Linked DNA regions of Homo sapiens: regions 1 and 2 are each linked to region 3. Evidence: promoter capture Hi-C in human tissues and cell types (Jung and others, 2019). All regions are on one chromosome and are shown on one strand. Each heading gives the region's core, a stretch centred on a gene start or on the middle of the fragment in contact. The rest is flanking DNA. Distances are from core to core; before and after follow the strand shown. Region 1 overlaps USP43 (ubiquitin specific peptidase 43). Region 2 overlaps CFAP52 (cilia and flagella associated protein 52). Region 3 holds the start of USP43 (ubiquitin specific peptidase 43).

The links. Contacts are between HindIII fragments. The study calls those that stand out against the background at their distance.
Region 1: a fragment that was not itself captured here is called in contact with the fragment with the promoter of USP43 in region 3 in 1 of the 25 tissues and cell types used here (dorsolateral prefrontal cortex).
Region 2: a contact is called between a fragment that was not itself captured here and the fragment with the promoter of USP43 in region 3, in 2 of the 25 tissues and cell types used here (bladder and neural progenitor cells).

What each region holds. Positions count from the first base shown.
Region 1 is chr17:9,706,753-9,709,518 of GRCh38, reverse strand. All of the region lies in intron 12 of USP43 (ubiquitin specific peptidase 43), which reads right to left. Among named protein-coding and RNA genes, the nearest start is that of USP43, 63 kb to the right of the region's middle. RefSeq lists a silencer at 507-671. The HindIII fragment of the contact is 4,633 bases long and covers 1-2,766 here.
Region 2 is chr17:9,602,309-9,605,130 of GRCh38, reverse strand. All of the region lies in intron 6 of CFAP52 (cilia and flagella associated protein 52), which reads right to left. Among named protein-coding and RNA genes, the nearest start is that of CFAP52, 27 kb to the right of the region's middle. The HindIII fragment of the contact is 6,180 bases long and covers 1-2,822 here.
Region 3 is chr17:9,644,122-9,646,886 of GRCh38, reverse strand. It overlaps USP43 (ubiquitin specific peptidase 43), which reads right to left and starts at 1,370. Exons shown (of 15, transcript NM_153210.5): 1 at 751-1,370. The coding sequence starts at 1,254. It overlaps LOC124903924 (a long non-coding RNA gene), which reads left to right and starts at 1,460. Exons shown (of 2, transcript XR_007065615.1): 1 at 1,460-1,651; 2 at 2,380-2,765. It overlaps LOC107985011 (a long non-coding RNA gene), which reads left to right. Exons shown (of 3, transcript XR_001752790.2): 3 at 170-782. It also overlaps a transcript of CFAP52 not described here. RefSeq lists an enhancer at 482-1,129 and a silencer at 1,438-1,497. The HindIII fragment of the contact is 10,149 bases long and covers 1-2,765 here.

The DNA of each region.
Region 1 (2,766 bases), core at 44-2,543, 63 kb before region 3:
GTCTCGAACTCCTGACCTAAGATGATCCACCCACCTCGGCTTCCCAAAGTGCTGGGATTACAGGCCTGAGCCACCATGCCCGGCCAAGAGTGCTGTTATTTTAAGTTGAATATTCTACCCCTTCATCAGGCAAAATCTCAAATAAAAGGGAGCTCCCAAGTTAGGTAGCCAAACAATAATGTCAGCGTTCACCCCATTTCTTCTGAGAAGCTTCAAAATGCATATCTCTGATTAAGCATGCAATAAAAGTGAAGATGAGAATCACAATTGGGCTTATGGCATACCTCTTTCTAAGAACTGAAGTCAAACGTCTAAGGAAAATTCATAAATATTCTCACCATTTCTCAAGTAACGACAACAAAATATCCGTTTCCTTGCCCTCTACGTGTCAGCAAATGACAGCATAACCCAGTAATCTGGAAGTTTGCAAACTTTTCCCATAAGGGACCAGATGACAAATATTGAGACTTTGCAGGTCACATATGGCCACATATATTCTCTGTCGCATATTCTGCGTGTCTTTCTCCCACTTTTAAAATTGTAAAAACCATTTTTAACCCATAGATTATTAATAAACGGGGGAAAAAAAACAGGCCGGGCGTGGTGGTTCATGCCTTTAATCCCAGCACTTTGGGAGGCCGAGGTGGGCAAATCACGAGGTCAGGAGTTCGAGACCAACCTGGCCAACATGGTGAAACCCCGTCTCTATTAAAAATACAAAAAATTAGCTGGGCGTAGTGGTGCACGCCTGTAATCCCAGCTACTTGGGAGGCTGAGGCAGGATAATCGCTTGAACCCAGGAGGCAGAGGTTGCAGTGAGCCAGGATCACGCCACTGCACTCCAACCCGGGCAACACAGTGAGACTCCGTCTCAAAAAACAACAACAACAACAAAAAACAGGCCCTAGATTGGATCCGGCCCGTGGGCCACAGTTTGCTGACCTCCACACTAATCCAAGCCAGCCACCTAGGAGTTCATCTTTGCTCTTGCTTTTCCGTTCCGCCCCACACCTAATCCAAAAGCCAGACCTACTGATTCTACTTCCAAACTATGTCTCGAATATCTTGATTGTCAACACCAACATCTCAGCCAGTGGTGTCTCTCACTCGGCCCCTGAAGCACCCTCCTAACTGGAATTCCAGCTTCCACTCTAGATCCCTTCTACACATTCTCCATACAGCAGAGCAACTAGTTTGATTTGTACACTAGATTATGTCTTCACTCCTCTGCTTAGAACCTTTAAATGATTTATCACCCCTTTGGAAAAAATGCAAACTCCCATCCGTGGCCTAGAGTGTCCTGCCCACTTCTCCAGCCCCACCCTTCATCAATTACCCCTGAATGGCTACACTTCATCCAGGCTGTCATCATGTCTTAAACACACCGAATGCTTTCTGCCTCAGGGCCTTTGCACATGCTACGAGCTCTGCTCATAATGCAATTCATCCCATTATTCACATAGCTAGTTCTATCTCATCCTCAGCTCTGAGCCTACATGTGACATCCTTGCAGAGGCCTTATGTCTATCACAGACACAGTCAATCAGTCGCCCTTTCAAAATGTCAGGTAGTGAAAGTGCTAAAATGATAAGCACATTTTATTGTCTGTCTCCAAAGTGAGACTGAAGTCCCATGAGGGCAGGCCTTGTATTTGTCTTGTTCATCACTGAAGCTCCAGGACCTGGCATAGAACAGGTACTTAATATACATTTGTGCAATGAATTAATGAGCAAAGATCCTGGATTTCTATATAGTTTGGTGTCTTCCAAATTGCCAGTCATCAGCCCATCGGGACACTGGTAATCAGTGCATTAAAAAAAAATGTTTAATAAATAAAAAATGAAATATTTTAAAGCTTTTTTTTTTTTTTTTGAGACAGAGTCTCGGTCTGTCGCCCAGGCTGGAGTGCAGTGGCATGATCTCGGCTCACTGCAAGCTCCACCTCCCGGGTTCACGCCATTCTCCTGCCTCAGCCTCCCGAGTAGTTGGGACTACAGGCGCCTGCCACCACACCCGGCTAATTGTTTTGTATTTTTATTAGAGACGGGGTTTCACCATGTTAGCCAGGATGGTCTTGATCTCCTGACCTCGTGGTCCGCCCACCTCGGCCTCCCAAAGTGCTGGGATTACAGGCGTGAGCCACCGCGCCTGGCCAAAGCATTTTTAAAATTAAGTAATATGTTATTCTGGAATAGAATGGACCAAGGTATATCACATGTAGTAAATTTAATTATCGACTCATGAAATTCTGTTTAGTCTTAATCTATGTATGTACACATAAACACACATGTGCGCGTACGTAAATGGATGCGCACATCAGGAGGTCATGATGGAACCCAGTGTTTCATTTTGCCATTTAGTCAAGTGCCTCATCATCATATTTTATTTCATTTAACATCTTTTAAGTTTATTTTGATATGTAAAATGGCAAACAAAAATCCACTAAAAACAAAAAATACATCTATGGTATGATAGCATTTATGTAAAAGTATATGGCAGCTTGAAAGTTACCAATTGTTGGGGCCTACAATATGAGAAGCATCTTACATATGTTAGTTCTAGTCATAAAAATCCCAGGCTGGGCACGGAGACTCACGCCTGTAATCCCAGCACTTTGGGAGGCCGAGGCGGGCAGATCATGAGGTCAGGAGTTCAAGACCAGCCTGGCTAACACAGTGAAACCCCGTCTCTACTAAAAATACAAAAAATTAGCTGGGTGTGGTGGCACCCGCCTGTAGTCCCAGCTACTCAGGAGGCTGAGGCAGG
Region 2 (2,822 bases), core at 192-2,691, 42 kb after region 3:
TCGTGTGAACATAAGTTTTCAGCTCCTTTGGGTAAATAGCAAGGAGTGCAACTGCTGCATTACATGGTAAGAGTAAGTTTAATTTTGCAAGAAACCACCAAACTATCTTCCAAAGTGGCCGTACTATTTTGCATTCCCATCAGCAATGAACAATAGTACTCACTGCTCTCCATCTCTGTCAATATTAGGTGTTGTTAGTGTTCTGGATTTTGGCCATTTGAAAAGGTATGTAGTCGTGCCTCATTGCTGTTTTAATTACATTTCCCGGCTGATATAAGACATAGAGTATCTTTCCATATGCTTACTTGCCATCTGTATATCTTCTTTTATTTATTTATTTATTTATTTATTTATTTATTTATTTATTTATTTATTTATTTTGAGACAGAGTCTTGCTGTGTCCCCCAGGCTGAAGTGCAATGGCGTGATCTCACTGCCGGGTTCAAGTGATTCTCCTGCCTCAGCCTCCCTAGTAGCTGGGATTACAGGCTCACACCACCACACTTGGCTAACTTTTGTATTTTTAGTAGAGACGGGGTTTCACCATGTTGGCCCCGCTGGTCTTAAACTCCTGACCTCAGGTGATCGGCCCGCCTCAGCCTCCCAAAGTGCTGGGATTACAGGCACAAGCCACTGCGCCCGGCTGCCATCTGTATATCTTCTTTAGGGGAGGTGGCAGTTAAGGTCTTTGGCCCATTTCTTATTGTTGAGTTTTAAAAGTTCTCTGTATATTTTGGGTAACAGTCCTTATTCAGGTATGTCTTTTGCCAATATTTCCTCTCACTCTGTATCTTTATTTTTCATTCTCTTGACAGTGTCTTTCATGGAGCAGAATTTTTGATTTTAAGGAAGTCCAGCTTTTCAATTCTTTCTTTCATGGGTATTATAGCTAAAAGTTATCACCACATCTTAGGTCTTCTGGATTTTATCTTTCAGGAGTTCTATTGTTTTGTGTTTTAGGTCTGTAATCCATTTTGAGTTAATTTTTGTGAAAGGTATAAGGTCTGTGTCTAGGCTTTTTTATTTTTATTTTTTGGTTTTCCAGGTGTTTAGCATTATTTATTAAAAAGACGATCTTTTTTTCCATTGTATTTCCTTTGCTCTTTCACCAATGATCAGTTGACTATGTGAATTCATGTTTGGGCTCTCTATTCTGTCCCATTGATCCATTTATCTATTCTTTCACCAACCCTACACTGTCTTGATTACTGTAGTTTTATGGTAAGTCTTGAAATCTGGTAGTGTCACTCCTCCAACTGTGTTCTTCTTCAATATTGTGCTTTCTTTTTTTAAAAATTATACTTCAAGTTCTGGGATACATGTGCAGAACATGCGGGTTTGTTACATAGGTGTACATGTGCCATAGTGGTTTGCTGCACCCATCAACCCGTCATCTACATCATCTATATTACCCGTCATCTACATTAGGTATCAATATTGTGCTTTCTAGTCGGAGTCTTTTGCCCCTCTGTGTAAACTGTAGAATCAGTTTGTCTACAGACACAAAATAACTTGCTGGGATGTTTATTGGGATTGCAGTAAATCTATAGTTCAAATTAAGAAGAACTCATATCGTGACAATACTGAGTCTTCCTATCCATGAACATGAAATATCTACTTAGGGCCGGGTGTGGTGGCTCACGCCTGTAATCCCAGCACTTTGGGAGGCCGAGGCGGGTGGATCACGGGGTCAGGAGATCGAGACCATCCTGGCTAACACGGTGAAACCCCGTCTCTACTAAAAATACAAAAAAGTTAGCTGGGCATGGTGGTAGGCGCCTGTAGTCCCAGCTACTCTGGAGACTGAGTCAGGAGAATGGCGTAAACTCTGGAGGCAGAGCTTGCAGTGAGCCGAGATAGTGCCACTGCACTCCAGCCTGGGCGACAGAGCGAGACTCTGTATCAAAAAATAATAACAATAATAAAAAAGAATTTCAGCATCCACAGGTGACTTAAGTGCCAAAGGTTTGAGAAACCTAAGATAGCCAGCATCTTTGCTGGACAGATATTTCGTTCCCAAGTGCTAGGAAAACAAAACAAAACAAAACAAAAAATCCACTAGTTTTCAGGTAGTGTTACATGGAGCTCTTTGGAGGCATCTCAGGAGTTGGCACTGGCAGGGCTCTAAGACTTGCTCTCCTTAACCTGATGTGCTTTGTTTTTATTTGTTTAATATATTAGAATTCCTATCCTATATGAACACACACTTCTCAAAAGAAGATATTTATGCGGCCAACAAACATATGAGAAAAAGCTCATTATTACTGGTCATTAGAGAAATGTAAATCAAAACTGCAATGCGATACCATCTCACGTTAGTTAGAATGGCGATCATTAAAAAGTCAGGAAACAACAGATGCTGGGGAGGATGTGGAGAAATAGGAACACTTTTACACTGTTGGTGGGAGTGTAAATTAGTTCAGCCATTGTGGAAGACAGTGTGGTGATTCCTCAAGGATCTAGAACCAGAAATACCATTTGACCCAGCAATCCCATTACTGCGTATATACTCAAAGGATTATAAATCATTCTACATGCACATGTATGTTTATTGTGGCACTATTCACAATAGCAAAGACTTGGAACCAACCCAAATGTCCATCAATGATAGACTGGATAGAAAGAAAATGTGGCACATATACACCATGGAATACTATGCAGCCATAAAAAAGAATGAGTTCATGTCCTTTGCAGGGACATGGATGAAGCTGGAAACCATCATTCTCAGCAAACTAAAACAGGAACAGAAAACCAAACACCGCATGTTCTCATTCATAAGTGAGAGTTGAACAATGAGGACACATGGACACAGGGAGGGGAAC
Region 3 (2,765 bases), core at 121-2,620:
CGTGCTCATACATTGTAGGGGATTGAATGCGCCTTAAACAAAAGGATGCTATCTCCAAAATAGCACGCTCACTGCCTTTGCTGGGCACTCAGCACGGTACCTGGCCTGTAGGTTGTCAGATTCCACTGGGCTTAGAATAAAATCCAAACTCTTTACCGTTGCCTCCTAGGTCTTACGTGATCTGGCGAAACTCATCTGCCTCCTAAGCTCCAACGCCACTGCTTTTCTTTCCCTGTCTCCAGCACTCAGCTCCTTCGGGTCTATGGCAATTGTACTTGCTGTTCCTCCTGCCTGGATTAGTCCTACAGCTTGCCCTGACTGCATCCTTCTCATCATTCAGATCTCAACGCAAGCATCACCTCCTTCCTCTGAGGCCTTGGCCTTCAACATCCCATTCCCTACCCCACATCATTCCAGACTGGAAGCTCTAGAGCTGGCATTAGAACACTGTCTGGCCCACAAGCCTTCAATACTTCAACAAATGCTTGTTGAATCCAAAAACGCTGATTACCCTTCAATCTGCCAGCTCACCCCACTCCCTCTCAAAATACCTAGGAGAATTAATTTACAAAGAAAACATAAGCAAGCGACAGCGTAACACATCGACTCAAAACAAAGCCGGTAATCCGGGGCTGAACTGGTCAACGGCATTTAAAGAAGGCCCCAAGAAAACCCTTTCCTGATCGTGCACACACTTTTCAAGAGGCGAAACCAGGGGGACAGGGCGGTCGGCGGCGCAGCGCTGCCTACCTTGAACTCCGCGGAAAGTTGGGGCGTGTATTCGCGAGTCCAGAGCGCGCGCACCAGCGCCGCCAGCTGCTCGGTGACCTCGGCGCGGCCCGGAGCCGCCCGGTAGCGCCCCAGCGCCAGGAACTCGGCCAGCAGGTCGGTGTTGCTGAGACACTGCACCACCGCGTTCATGAAACAGGTGTTGCCGTGGTTCTTCAAGCCCTGAGCGCCCGGCGGCCGCGCCCCATCGCCGGCGGGGAGCTGGAGCTGGGGCTGGGGTCCGGGCGGGCGTTCCTCCCCGGGGCTCCCGGGGGCCGCTGGAACTGGGCCCGGGGCGCAGGCGAAGCCCCCCTCACCGTCGCCATCACAGTGTCCCGGCTGGGGCCGGGGCGGTGAGTCCCCGGGGCGTGAGCGGCTGCCCAGCGCCAGCAGGAAGCGGCTGAACAGGCGGCGCAGGGAGCGGCGGCGGCGGGGCCGGGGCGCGAGCGGTCCCCCTCCTGCCGCGTCCCCGGGGCCCAGGTCCATGGCTGCCGCCGGCGCAGCTCCAGGCGCGGAGCCCCCGGGCGCGAGGCGGACGAGCGGCCAGCAGGCCCTACAGCTTCTCTAAGGCTCCTGGTGCCGGCTACCTGCGGGCCAGGTGTGCGGGGACGGGGCGGAGGCGGAGCCAAGGGCGGGGCAGCCCCGCCCCGCGCGGGAATCCGGCGGCACGACCAGCCCCCTCCAGGGCAGCGCCGGGCCACCCCTACCCCTGCCTGGTGCCGCCCCCGCTGCGCTGACTGGGAGTCTTCGTGGTCGGATTCCCCACCCTTCCTTACCTCGTAAACCGACAGACCTGGGTTTCGCCGCTGCTCCTGTTCCTCGAGCAGCCTTCAAGCAGTGGAAATTACGGAGAAATGAACATTCTGAAAGCGCCTAGTAAATGGTAAAGGCCTGGCTACTGCAGGAAGAAAAGGGCAAGGCAGGCATCTCCAGAGCACAGCCTCGGGCGTGGTGAGAGGCGCGCGCTGGGCGCTGTGTGGGGGTGGGGAGCGCTTTTGTGCACCGCTGGTTCCTCCGCAGGCTCAGGTGTGTGCGGACAGGTGTCGCCACCTCCTTCCAGACCGTCTGCCCCTTGGGGGGAGGCAGAGTCTGTGCCTGCACCCGCCAACCCGGGACCTGAACTGGGAGCCACGTGTTGCCCTGTGAAAAAAGCCCCCGAGTGGTTGTGGTTTGCTTTTTTACACCACAGATTGGGTTAGAATCATTTTCCAAAAACTTGCAAGACTTGATCACCCTTGCTTTAATCGGCAAGGAAGGGGGCTCAGAGAGGTTATCGCAACGTAGGGAGGCCGCCCGATCCGTAAGCAGGGAAACCGGAACTCGACCTGGATCTATGGACTGCCAAGTTCAGGCCCTTTCCAGCCTCAGTATTTGCTAACCAGGAAGTTTTCAGGCTCTCAGGCGCGCCCCCTACGCGGTTTCTGGTTCACTCCTTAACGCACGATCCTTGTTGAATGATTGCCCAATCAGAATTAGTTTGGCCTTGCCCCGCCCTTGATTCCCTGGGTAACCCTGGGCCCCTCCCCCACCCCTCACTTTATCCCATGCAACTGTCAGGTTTATAATTAATCAGGCAAGGTCTTGCAAAATGACTTTCTCGTCAATTTCTAGCTCAGGAAGAGATCAGCACCATGTGAGATGCAGTATTCTAACGCTCTGAAATGTTACTTGTTGTTTAATAAGTGATCATCATTTATTAAATATTCTTGATCCTGGCCGGGCGCGGTGGCTCACGCCTGTAATCCCAGCACCTTGGGAGGCCGAGACGGGCGGATCACCTGAGGTCAGGAGTTCAAGACCAGCCTGGCCAACATGGTGAAACCCCGTCTCGACTAAAAATACAAAATTAGCCAGGCGTGGTGGCGCATGCCTGTAATCCTAGCTACTCAGGAGGCTGAGGCAGGAGAATCGCTTGATTCAGTGAGCCGAGATCGCGCCATTGCACTCCAGCCGGGCGACAAGAGCTAAATTGCGACAAGAGCTAAATTCCGTCTCAA